Linked DNA regions of Homo sapiens: region 2 is linked to region 1. The links are contacts of gene promoters, found by promoter capture Hi-C in blood cells and fetal thymus (Javierre and others, 2016). All regions are on one chromosome and are shown on one strand. Each heading gives the region's core, a stretch centred on a gene start or on the middle of the fragment in contact. The rest is flanking DNA. Distances are from core to core; before and after follow the strand shown.

Evidence for each region. Contacts are between HindIII fragments. The CHiCAGO score rates a contact against its expected background, and 5 or more counts as called.
Region 2: a contact is called between a fragment that was not itself captured here and the fragment with the promoter of ATXN1L in region 1, in 3 of 17 cell types (total CD4 T cells, activated CD4 T cells and total CD8 T cells). The highest score is 6.1, in total CD4 T cells.

What each region holds. Positions count from the first base shown.
Region 1 is chr16:71,843,546-71,849,977 of GRCh38, forward strand. ATXN1L (ataxin 1 like) reads left to right here and starts at 2,431. Exons shown (of 3, transcript NM_001137675.4): 1 at 2,431-2,559; 2 at 4,465-4,526; 3 at 6,079-6,432. The coding sequence starts at 6,196. RefSeq lists enhancers at 1,503-2,275, 2,009-2,058, 2,276-3,047, 2,849-2,918 and a silencer at 2,319-2,628. The HindIII fragment of the contact is 5,556 bases long and covers 1-2,973 here.
Region 2 is chr16:71,915,200-71,921,707 of GRCh38, forward strand. It overlaps IST1 (IST1 factor associated with ESCRT-III), which reads left to right. Exons shown (of 10, transcript NM_001270975.2): 2 at 427-529; 3 at 1,263-1,443; 4 at 1,848-1,935; 5 at 5,540-5,623; 6 at 6,144-6,254. The coding sequence starts at 442. Among named protein-coding and RNA genes, the nearest start is that of IST1, 23 kb to the left of the region's middle. RefSeq lists an enhancer at 4,134-4,313. The HindIII fragment of the contact is 4,233 bases long and covers 950-5,182 here.

The DNA of each region.
Region 1 (6,432 bases), core at 1,181-3,680:
ACCCAGCTCTGAGTGTATATCTTGATCTGGGAGAAACTAGCTATCCTTGAATATGCTTGGATAGTCCAAGGGTTCCTATCTTGACTATTTTAATGCCAGTTTAGTGAGCTAAGAAATGAACTAGAAACCAGAATGCTAGTTAGTGCTAAAACGGACACACTGAGTGACCACAGGACTTCCTTCTTGGCCAAACTGAGAGAGAAGGAGACTGTCATGAACAATATTAATATTAATGAAGCAAAACACTCAGATGATTTAGATGACAGCAGTAACTTCACTATGTTTTTTCCCATTTGTGCTGTGTGTATGTGTGCGTGTGTGTGTGTGTCTGTGTGTGTGTCTGTGTGGTACTTGATAATTTTTTATGGCCCTATGTGTCCATCCAGGTGAGAAAATATAATTGAGATCTAAGGCTTCCCTAGAAAGAATCTTAGAGATCATGCATTGTATCTGGATCTCAACTTACTTTTTTTATTTCTAAGATAATATTCTCCTAAATATTCAAACAATAATATAAGTTGTTTCTTTGCCTTTTGACCACCACCCAATTCCACTTTCCTTCCCAAAAATAACCAATGTTAATTAGTTATGTGTTCTACTCCTTTTCTGTACAGATACACAGAAATACATACAACCGACGCTGGGTGTGGTTGGCTCATGACTGAAATGTCAGCACTTTGGGAGGCCGAGGAGGGAAGATCACTTGAGCACAGGAGTCTAAGACCAGCCTGGGCAACATAGCAAGACCTTGTCTCTGCAAGAAATTTTAAAAAATTAGCTGGGCATGGTAGTGCATGCCTATCATCGCACCTACCCCAGAGGCTGAGGTGGGAGGACTGCTTGAGCACAGGAATTTGAGGCTGCAGTGAGCTAAGATGGCACCACTGCACTCTAACCTGGGCGACAGGGCTAAAAAAAAAAAAAAATTATATGTACACACACACACACACATACACGCAACTGCAATGACATATCTTTTTTTTTCTTTTTTTTTTTTTAAGACGGAGTCTCACTCTATTGCCCAGGCTGGAGTGCAGTGGCACGATCTCGGCTCACTGCAAGCTCTGCCTCCCGGGTTCATGCCATTCTCCTGCTTCAGCCTCCCGAGTAGCTGGGAGTACAGGTGCCCGCCACCATGCCCGGCTAATTTTCTGTATTTTTAGTAGAGACGGGGTTTCGCCGTGTTAGCCAGGATGGTCTGCGATCTCCTGACCTCGTGATCCGCCGGCCTTGGCCTCCCAAAGTGCTGGGATTGCAGGCGTGAGCCACCGCGCCTGGCCCAATTGTTATTTATTGAACAGAGTTTGAAGAAACTGAAAGTCTCCATTTCGGTGGCCAAAACCGCAATTACTTTTGCACCAACCTAATACTTTAAAACAAACAACAACAAAAACACAGTTGTTATTCAAACATAAATTCAACTGGCGCTCACTTTTGTCTTCACTTAAGTTAATCAGATGTTCATGTTACTATGAAGTTGACCAGTTAATTTGTAATGAATAATTAGTTAATTTGTAATGAATAATATTTCACTGAGTAGTCAAGCCCTCTTTCCACTAAACCAAGCTGCTTCTCACTGTACTAAACCCCGGGCTCTCTCTAAACTTTCAGGTGTTCCACTCCTTGTCACCTTCCCCTAGATCCTGAGTGGGGTTCACTCTTAGCTCCCTCGGGGGCCACTTCTCAACACTTACAGAGCTCCTATTGACCTGGCACGGTGGCTCACGCCTGTAATCCCAGCACTTTGGCAGGCCGAGGTGTGGGGATCACCTGAGGTCGGGAGTTCGAGACCAGCCTGACCAGCAAGGAGAAACCCTGTCTCTACTAAAAATACAAAAAATTAGCCAGGTGTGGTGGCGCATGCCTGTAATCCCAGCTACTCGGGAGGCTGAGATAGGAGAATTGCTTGAACCTGGCAGGCGGAGGTTGGGTGAGCCGAGATCGTGCCATTGCACTCTAGCCTGGGCAACAAGAGCGAAACTGTCTCCAAAAAAAAGAAAGAAAAGAAAAAAAGAAGACTTCCTATCTCCACCTGGGTCCCCAAGAGGTAAGAGGTATCTCCTTTTCTCCTGAGCCTAGGTCACCTCGGGGTCCCCCGAAGTTCCCCAGAAGGGGCTGCACAAGTCAGGACAAGAAGTCCAGGAAATGGGGGGTCGCCGATGACCACGCCCCGGGGCTCTGTTTGGGAACCCCCAAAATTTACTGAGGTGGAAAGATTGCGGGGTCATTGTGGGGTCAGGCTGAGGGGGCCGGGCCCAGCCCTATTCACGTGACCCGGTCCCAGGGAGAGGAGTTTGTTCACCCACCAGAGGGAACGCCCGACGCGAAGGCAGTGTGGCACCCTCCCTTCCCGGGGAGTCCTGGGCGTTGCTCTCCCACCCCGGCCGTGACGCAATCTCTCCGCGCCGGGGGCGGGACGAGCTTGACGCCATCTCCGGGCGCCCGGCTGTGGGGGGCGCTGGGTGTGGGGCGGCTCCGGGGCCGGGGATGGCGGCGGCCGCGGTTGCGGCGGCTCCGGGACGAGTGAGTGGATCCTGGGAAGCGCTGTGAAATGGGCTGGTGAGTGTCCCTGGAAGTGGTGGCCGCCGGGGCCAGGCAGGCCTGGGGTCGGTGCTCCGGAGGAAGTGGCCCTCAGGAGCCCGTTGCTCCGGCGGGCCGGGGCCCATGAACCGTGGACAGACGGAGGGGAGAGGCCGCACCTAGACCCCCTCGCGCTTCTCTCTGGCCTGTCCTGGAAGGTGGCCTCAGGCCCCGGCGCCCCGGAGGCTGTGTGCCTGCGAGCCAAGGTGTCCGAGTCTGTGGGGCGGGAAGGGCCCCCAAACAAGGAAGCGTCGCCTGCAGGGCCTCGCCCCTGCCCCCTTGGTGAAGGGTGGACCCCCTACTCTCTAAACGCAGAATTCCCAATTTCGAGCCCTACCCTTGTTGGATCAAGGATTGCGGGACCACTGGGAGCCATAACCGTAGTCTCTGACAAGCTTCTCCCTTTCTGTCGGGCGCACCTCTCGCCCGCAGAGAATTTGGGTCTCCAGCTGGGTTCAGCCCCTTGATTCCGACCCAAGCGTGATGAGGAGCTTGGTTCCGGGCTCTGCTAGCAGCGTTGGCAACTCTCCTGAACAGCCTGTTAGCTCGGTTGGGGTCACAAGCTGCGTTTTCCCTTTGAGATGCTCAGTGAGGTTCTCGAGAGGCGGAGGTTTCGGATTCTTAAGTGTGTTTTGCGTTGTGGGAACCTGGCGCACAGGCTTGGCTCTTTGTTTTCCTTTCTGCAGACCTTTTGCCTCTTTCGGTCCCTTTACTAGCCTGTGTTTGCTAACTTCTCGGTGACCTGGAGGCAGGTTTTCTTTAAAGTTTTCGTTACAGAAAGCAAGGATCATTTTGGGATTGAAGTGTGACCCCAGTTTCTGTTGGGAATGAAGAAGAAAGCAAGCTGCTTTTCAGTTATTAAAGCTGCTGGTGGAGAAAAGAGTCATTATTTATGCCACTGTGTAATAATATGTGTTTGTGGAATTAGGAATTTGTTTTCCCACTGTGTTTTCCTATCCTTCCACCTTTTGTGTACACCTGCACCTTGCCAATCTTAAGAGAGAAATGTTGCATTCGGTTTGGGTTGAGGCTTAGAGTGTTCTATAGGACTTGGACAGGATAGTCAGTTTCTCAGAGCACTCACTCATCTGTACTGCCTTCTCTGTTTTCAGAGGTTAAGGCTCCATTCTTTCTCGCTTTGCGTTTCTGGCAAGTGTAGATTCACATAGTGATGGTTTAGTGGTAGTTTTGTTTCACCAGTGTTAGCCAGCTGAGGACCAAGGCAATATTTTCAGTTTCTTTCATACCTGATTCAGCACTTGGTATACTGTCACTCAGAAAATTTTACATACACACACACATATGCTCATTTTTTTTTAACCCTGAAAATCTCTTAATAAGTCTTCTCCTTGAGTGACTCCCCCCTGACCTCTTTTTCTGCCCCAGAAACATAAATAATTGTTCTTTTTCATCTACTGCTGCTTTTTTTCATTTAAATAACTCCACATTTATGTTTTCATAGGCCCAGAATAAAGGGGAAATCCATAGAGTTGATTTTTCCTGCTTCCCATTGTTCATATGGGAACAGTGTTAAAGCTTCCATTTTTATTTGTGCGTTTATCTGAAATTTGGATTGGAGCAAATTTAACCTTTGGGGAACAGGCACAGGTAGATGTTAGGGAAATGATGTTACGGAAAACCAATGAAATTTGATACATGGAAATTTTTTTTCAGGGATGTCTTCTTACAAGTTGGAGCATTAGAGGTGTTTTTCTCTCTGTTCAACTGCCTGGGCACTCTGGGTAAATGTACTGTTTACCTGTGGAGAAGAAGATGAGGCAAGGACGTGTATACTCTAATGCTTTGGAATTACCTTTCATGGTGACCCTGGGGAGAATTAGAGGTCAGGCAGCCGCTTACTCCATTCCTGTTTCTATCTTCTAGGCTCCCGAGCCAGCCGGGAGGACACTTACTACAGCTGCTCAGAAGCACCACTGGAAACTCAGGTAATACCGGCACTTTGAATTCCTTGTTTCAGGAAAATATCTGGGATGTCACAGTGGAAAAACAGAACAGAATGTAATATAGAAAGCTCTTTTCAGATCCAAAGAACTGGAACCTGGTTGGAAGAAATAGGCAGCAAAGTTCATGTGCACTGAAGTGTTCAGACCAAAAAGTTGCTTTATAACAATGGACAAAAGCATTTGTGAAAGGTGACAATAAGAGAAAAGGGAAAGAGAACTTTCTTATGAATCATACAGATACGGGGAAAAAAACAGGCATGTTTAGAGGAATGGAACCAGAATTTCATGGAGTGGTGCCTGGAGCAGACCTACAGTGGAGAAGGAGCTATTGGTAAAAGAAAGCACAAAGAAAAAAGAAAGGGAATGAATAGAGAAGGCAAATTGAAGGTGATCATTGAGAAGAAGCCTTTTGAGACTAGGGAACCGGAAGTGTACGTAAGGTCAGAAGAATTTAGAATTTTGTTGTTCTTTGGTGAAGAGGAGAAACAAGTTGACAGCAAACTAGTTTAATCACTTTCACTATATAGAGGCTGAGTTAAAATGTATTATTTCATGGGTCAAAGATGTTAATTTTCATAACCTGGTTAGGGAGCAAAGTCTTAAAAAAAAAAACAAAACACGAGCAGACCTGAGGGTTTTGGCACCTAGGTCCTTGAGGTACTGATGAGATGAGGCAAAGGAGGAAGAGAGTTTTTAGCCAGGCTTGGGATAGCAGTAGGTGAGATCATAACCCAAATTAGGCTACAGAAAGGAAGCAAGGATGAGGTCATATGTTCAGGAAAGAAGGTGGCACATTCATGTTTGGTAGCAAAAGGAGAAACTTAAGAAAAAGAGCCAGCAGGAGGCTGGGCGCTGTGGCTCACACCCGTAATCCCAGCACTTTGGGAGGCTGAGGTGGGCGGATCACCCAAGGGCAGGCGTTCGAGACTAGCCTGGCCAACATGGTGAAACCCCATCTCTACTAAAAATACAAAGTTAGCCAGGCGTGGTGGTGCATGCCTGTAGTCCCAGCTGCTTGGGAGGCTGAGGCAGGAGAATTGCTTGAACCCGGGAGGCGAGGTTGCGGTGAGCTGAGATTGCACCATGTACTGTGGCCAGGGCAACAAGAGCAAAACTCCATGTGTTTTAAAAAAAAAAAAAAAAAAAAAAAAAAGCAAAAGAGCCAGCAGGAAAGACCATGTGTTCAAAGCCCCCTTTGGGAAGAAGGCAGAAAAGAGACAAGGTGCTTATGAGACACATGACTAACCGTGAAGCTGTTGGTCTCCCTGGGCTTGTGGAGCCCACAGGTTATTTGTGCATTGGTGAATGCGTGTCCCTGTAGCTCTTTGTGCCTTGTGATTTCCCCGACTGTTTCTCTCATGTCCCAGGCTGGATGAGTTGGGGGTAGCCTCCTTGTCTGCCCCTTTCTCTTTCCTCCTTATTTTCTAACAGTCCCCTTTGTTACATCTTCCTCCATGGCACAGTTCTTTCTATTTCCTTTGTCTTGGCTCATCCCTAGGTTACTTTTCTTTGCCTCTGATTTGTTCCCTAATAGATGTGGGCGCCCCAGCCAGAAGCAGAGAGGGGTACAGGGAAGCTACAGAGAAGCCCCTTCTGATGCCCCAGGGAGCAAGTCGACTCCTTCCAGGCTCCAGGAACACCACAAAGCAATATGAAACCTGTTCATGAAAGGAGTCAGGAATGCCTTCCACCAAAGAAACGAGACCTCCCCGTGACCAGCGAGGATATGGGGAGAACTACCAGCTGCTCCACTAACCACACACCCTCCAGTGATGCTTCTGAATGGTCCCGAGGGGTTGTGGTGGCTGGGCAGAGCCAGGCAGGAGCCAGAGTCAGCCTGGGGGGTGATGGAGCTGAGGCCATCACCGGTCTGACAGTGGACCAGTAT
Region 2 (6,508 bases), core at 1,816-4,315, 72 kb after region 1:
TGTTGAGATTTTTTTGGGAGAAGCAGGGAGCCCTTCTGCTTCTTTATCTTTTTATCACACCACCCCCATGCCAATATCTAGGTATTAATTTCATCTGTCACCAAATTCTTTCAGCTGTGCCTTTAAAGTAGATTTCAAATCCAGTTGCTGACACTGCTAACCACCCTAGTCTGAGCTATTACCATCTCTTGTCTGGATGATAATAATAGCCTTCCCATTGGTCTTCCTGCTTCCAGTATTATCCTTCCCCAATCAGTTTTTTTTACAACAGCCAAAACAATCTGTAAAAAATGTGAATTAGATCATGTCATTTTCCTGTATTAGAAAAACACTCTGTTTTTGTTTCACATAATTCACCCCTAAGAGGTGTTAGTTCCTGAACTAATGTTGACTTGAAAATAGTCATTGTGCTTCTTCTGTTTCTAGGAGGAACAGCACAGCATGCTGGGCTCTGGATTTAAAGCTGAGCGCTTAAGAGTGAATTTGAGATTAGTCATAAATCGCCTTAAACTATTGGAGAAAAAGAAAAGTGAGTAGTGTACTTTTTTTCCCCAAAAATAAATCACTGGATACTAGCACCCCAGTAATGGGTCTTTCAGGCCAGTACTATGAAGTCTTAGGGATCATATTTTTTTTTGTTGTTTTTGTTGAGACAGGGTCTCACTCTGTCGCCCAGGATGGAGTGCAGTGGTGTGATCTCGGCTCACTGCAACCTCCATCTCGTGGGTTCAAGTGATTCTTGTGCCTCAGCCTCCCAAGTAGCTGGGATTACAGGTGTGTGCCACCACACCTGGCTAATTTTCATGTTTTTAGTAGAGACGGGATTTCACCACGTTGGCCAGGCTGGTCTTGCACTCATGACCTCAAAGTCATCTGCCTGCCTCAGCCTCCCAAAGTGCTGGGATTACAGGCGTGAGCTACCATGCCCGCCCTGGGATCATATCTTTTAAGCTTTGGATCCATTTCTGCCCTTTGTGACTTTTAGACTGAGTACCTTTTTTGCAGAGAAAGGGACATACTCTGTTGTTGTGGCATTAGGTCACCTGACTCTTGAGTTGGAAATGTCAAGCCACATGAGCTATATTTTCTCACCTAGACAGAGTAGCAAATTCTACAGTAGAGGGGATGGGATTAGATTTGCTAAAGGAGAGGAGCTAGGATATAGTAGAAACACCCAGTTCTTCCTGTTGGGGGGAGATTGGCCTGTAGGCCAGATGCAAGTGCTCTACTGCTGTGAGATCGGAGTGGGATTTGTGTCTTAGCGGAACTGGCCCAGAAAGCAAGGAAGGAGATTGCTGACTATCTGGCTGCTGGGAAAGATGAACGAGCTCGGATCCGTGTGGAGCACATTATCCGGGAAGACTACCTCGTGGAGGCCATGGAGATCCTGGAGCTGTACTGTGACCTGCTGCTGGCTCGGTTTGGCCTTATCCAGTCTATGAAGTAAGATATTTTGATTCAGAGACCTAAATCATTTCTGGAATTTGAGAAAGGAGTAATATGATCTCTTTCTGCATTAAGGGACTATTTCACATGCCCAAGGATCTGCTGCCTAACAGTTGCTGAAAGGCCTGTTAAAAAGAAAATACAGAATCTGAAACTGAGAAGCCTAAATTTGAATCTTGGCTCGACCATTTTCCGAGTTCATGGCCTTGAGCTTGTTGCCTAGTTTTGAGTTCCTCCAAAAGTAAAATAAGATCACGAAAATGGCTAGAAGCCTAGAGTTATTGTGAGAATCTAGTGAGATTCACAGAATGGCTTTGGAGGCTATAAAGTATATGAAACAAAAGCTAGGATTTTGTTGGTTTGTTTTAAAGAATGTTATATTAATTTTTTTCCTTGATTAGGGAACTAGATTCTGGTCTGGCTGAATCTGTGTCTACATTGATCTGGGCTGCTCCTCGACTCCAGTCAGAAGTGGCTGAGTTGAAAATAGTGAGTACAAGTAGTTTCAGTGATGTCTGTAGCTTTTCATATTGTTAGAAAGGTTGGTTAATATAAGTTACTTCTGCTGATTTGACCAGATATTTTGTACCATTCTTATGTTGCTTTTGAAATAGGTTTTGTAAATTTGTTTCTCCCTTTCAGCCTTATATCGTAGAATAGAACAGTGTTTTGCAAACTTGAGCAGTTTTTTTAAGGAGCAAAGTTTTGTGTATCTCCAGTTTTGTCTTAATGTTATTTAACTCTATGCAAATAGAAAAGTTCTTATACAACTGTAAACCAGTAAAGTTAAAATAACATTAAGGTGACAGATGTTTTTGCTTTATTTATTAATTCCACAAATATTTATTAAATAAATTGTATGAGCTATGTAAGTGCTGGGGGTAACAGTGGTGAACAAAATATGGCACCAGCCATACTCCTGTAGCTTAGAGTCTAGCAGAAGAGACAGACATTAACCAGAAAATTGCACATCACAACATGGATATGGTACTGACTCCTAGGATACAAATTCAGTTGTGTTGTTTTCTATTTTCTACATCTTTGCCTTTCTGTTTTATTTCCTAGGAGACTGTGTCATTCTTATCTCTCAACCCATCTACTGAGATTTCCTTCTTTTCTAGGTTTTTTTCAAGAGCTCTTTTTAATTCTCTGAATATTTTTTATGGTTTGTTTCATGGCTACAATTTTTTCTAAGTCTCTGAGGATATTAATTATGGTTTATTTTTAAACGTCTGTCATGTTTGTTTCTCTCAAGTTCATTTTTCCTATTTCTTAGTTTTATAGTAGAGGCTTTCCAAAGATTTAGTGGTCCTTGGCTGTCGGTTTACATTTAAGAGTGAGGCACTAAAAAGGAGATTGGAACCTCTCGTGTGCATGGGTGGGTTTTTACTGCCAGATGCCTTCATTGCTGAGTGATCTGGTTAAGCTCTTATTTGGAGGAATTCCAGACTGTGAGGAACTAGTCATCTTTCCTTGGGTTGGTCGTTTTCTCCAGAATCCTCCTATCTTCTGTCGAGTGTATAAGCTGGCTGCCAGCATTTCTGAGAGCCCAGTGGAGAAGGAAGCCAAAAATCTATTTGATACATAGAAGACTTACACTTAATTCTTCTGTTGTAAGTATCACTGTTGTCTCCTGTGTGTAGACTCGAGTCGCTTTAGTTAACTCCCCCCAGAGAATAAACTTCCAATAGTCCAATAGGGTACCAGGGATAGTAATTGAGTTTTGTGGGCAGAGAAGAGGGACAGTAGAGGCAACTGATTCTTATGTAGGCTTTTTTTTTTTTTTTTTGAGATGGAGTCTTGCAGTGTTGCCTGGGCTGGAGTGCAGTGGTACAATTTTGGCTCACTGCAACCTCTGCCTCCTGGGTTGAAGCGATTCTTTTGCCTCATCGTCCTTAGTAGCTGGGATTACAGGTGCCCGCCACCATGCCCAGCTAATTTTTTGTATTTTTGGTAGAGACGGGATTTCATCATGTTGACCAGGCTGGTCTCGAACTCCTGACCTCGTGATCCGCCTGCCTCGGCCTCCCAAAGTGTTGGGATTACAGGCGTGAGCCACCATGTTGAGCCGTTTTTGGTCTCTTCTGTACTCCTTTAAAATTAATTTTGGAAAAGGCTTAAATATGTTACAAAACTCAAAAGCCATAAACAGAGTGATAAATTAATGTGAATAAAAAAATCTCTGTGTAGTATAAACCAGCCAAAACAAAAACCATAAAAGACAAATGCCATTTATATCATAGGTGTCAGGTACCCCTGAAAGTCTTCATAATGAACAGTGAGAACTCTCCTACTGGGCTTCTGGAATGTTGGGACCACTCTGGTCCAATGCTACTGTCGTTTCCTGTCTGGAAATGAGAGTAGCTTCTTGAATATTCTTCCTATTCCTACTTTGGCTTCTTTTAATCTATTCACACCATTCCATCAGAACCACCTGAGGGTTTTGTCCAAAACACAGCTCCGATCCTGTCACGACCTCTTGCTTTAAAGCCCATTAGTAGCTTTCTGTTGCTCTTGTGATAGAAACAAAACTCCCTGATACAGCCTACATGGTCCTGCATTGTCTGGCTCCCACTTCCCTTTTTCATTTCTTACCACACTCCTTGGCCTCTGCACTAGAGGCTCACTGGCTGATTGCAGGCTTGAGAACTGACCATGTTTGTTTCTGCCAGAGGCCTTTGCACTGCTGTTTTCTTTTCCTGGAATGTGCTTCCTTCCCTATTTAGTTAACTCCTAGTCATCCTTTAATTTATTATTTGAGACGGTCTTGATCTGTCACCCAGGCTGGAGTGCAGTGGCACGATCTTGCCTCACTGCAGCCTCGGCTTCCTGGGCTCAACTGATCATCCTCCCACCTCAGCCCCCTGAGTAGCTGAGACAAGAGGTGCGTGCCACCATGCCCAGCTAATTTTTGTATCTTTTAAAAATAGAGACTAGGGTTTTGCTGCGTTGCCCAGGCTGGTCTTGAACACCTGAACTCAAGTGATCAGCCTGCCTCAGCCTCACAAAGTGTTGGGATTACAGGCATGAGCCACGATGCCTGGCCTTAGTCATCCTTTAAATCTCAGCAAAGCATCACTTCCCTCAGGAAGCCTTACCTGACTTTTCTGATCAGATTTGATTCTGCTGTTAGAAGCTGGTGATAGCATGGTGCACCTTCCCTTGGTATCACTTACTGTAGTTGCAGTTGTACCTTTATCTGTGTGATTATTTTGTTAGAAATGCTTGTTCCCCAGTGCCACAGAGAAATAGCACTCAAATATAAATTTATTTCAGCAAGGCAATTTTTACCTTCTGCAGAAAGGGTGCTCCTTGCAGATGGAACAATGGCGAGCGCACACTGAACAAAGGGGGTAAAAATATTTATATCCTACACATCTGGACCCTACTGCTGTGTCCTGATTCCATTGGCTGGAACTGGACCTCACAGTCTGGGCTACACCCGTTTGGCTAAAGGTTTTAAAAGTTTTTAAAATAGATATATGCAAGGGAGAACAAAGGAAAAGAGGAACTTGCTTATGAGAAGACTTAGAAAAGTACTAACATTCCCAAATAAGGAAGGGGCATAGGCTGCGAGCTGGGACTTGCCTGTGAGCACATCTAGCACAGATATCTTGGTTAAAGTACAAGGACATAGAATGTATTTCTTATATTTAACAGCTACATAGGATACGGCTTAACAAAGAGTTATTAGCACAAAGCAAGGAGGCTTGAAGGAAGTTAGTCTTTTAAAAGAAGCTTATTTCTAACACTTATGATTTATTCTTTAACAAGGGAAATTTTGAAGAGGAAACTTTACTTTGTACAATTTGATTAATGTAAGACTCTATAAGAGTAAGAACAGTATCTGTTTTGTTCATTTTATTTATATTGTATAATACTCATGATAGTGTTTGGCACTCGAGTGCTGCTCATTGGATGGATGGATGGATGGATGAACAAATAGTGGATTAATGCATACCCCTTAAGGTTTTGCAGACTCCAGTGTTTTGGAAATCTTGTAATAGACGCGTGTTTACTGTTGCCAGGAAGAAGCTTAAAGCAGTCCGTTGGAGTGGTCTCTATTTTTATTTGCTGTCCTTTTTCTTTTTAGGTTGCTGATCAGCTCTGTGCCAAGTATAGCAAGGAATATGGCAAGCTATGTAGGACCAACCAGATTGGAACTGTGAATGACAGGGTAATGAACATACTTGGTAAACATGAAGGCAGTGTGTGGGAGCAGTTTATTGTACTGCTTGTGGCAATTCTAGTGGGTACCACTGTATTGCTCAGTATGGGGTTTCACCTTTCATAGTGGGGTGAGGAGGACAGCTGTGTGGCTGGCAGTGTGGTCCAATCCTTACACCTGCCCAATTCCTCTGGTTACTGTCATTCCTGACTCCACTTCCCCACTTTGTATGCCTCGTGTCATTTGTGAAGGTTGGAAGTGAGGTGGGGAGAAGGGTGGATGAATTGAACTGTGGAAGGCAGCAGTATCATCTTTTGCCAGCATCTGGGTCATGTGTAATGAGAATGTGAAAGAGAGACTTGGGTCCTCTGATGTGTCTTGTGACTCTGAAAAAAATCATTTAACTGCTCTGAACCTTTTTTTCCCTCAATATTACCTGTAAAATGAGAGGAGCTAACTTCGCATAGTGAGGTGAGGATTAGGCTGGTTGGTATACATGCATCTTAGCCCTGGGTCTTTTTACTTACAGCTAATGCACAAGCTGAGTGTGGAAGCCCCACCCAAAATCCTGGTGGAGAGATACCTGATTGAAATTGCAAAGAATTACAACGTACCCTATGAACCTGACTCTGTGGTCATGGTAAGTTTATCCCAGAATACAAAGAAAAATGAGTTTGTAGGTATGACCTTCTTTGGAAAACAAAAAAAACATTCTTTGCACTAACTTAAATTTGTGTGAGTTTAAGCCTTTGTCCAGTTAGTACCTTTATGACAATAAATGTGCCTGCATATCTCACAGGGTACTTAAGGAATTAGATGAATGACAACACTTTGAGAAGGTCAAAACCTTGATACAAATGTAAAATGGCACTATTATTGCTACTTTTTGGTGAA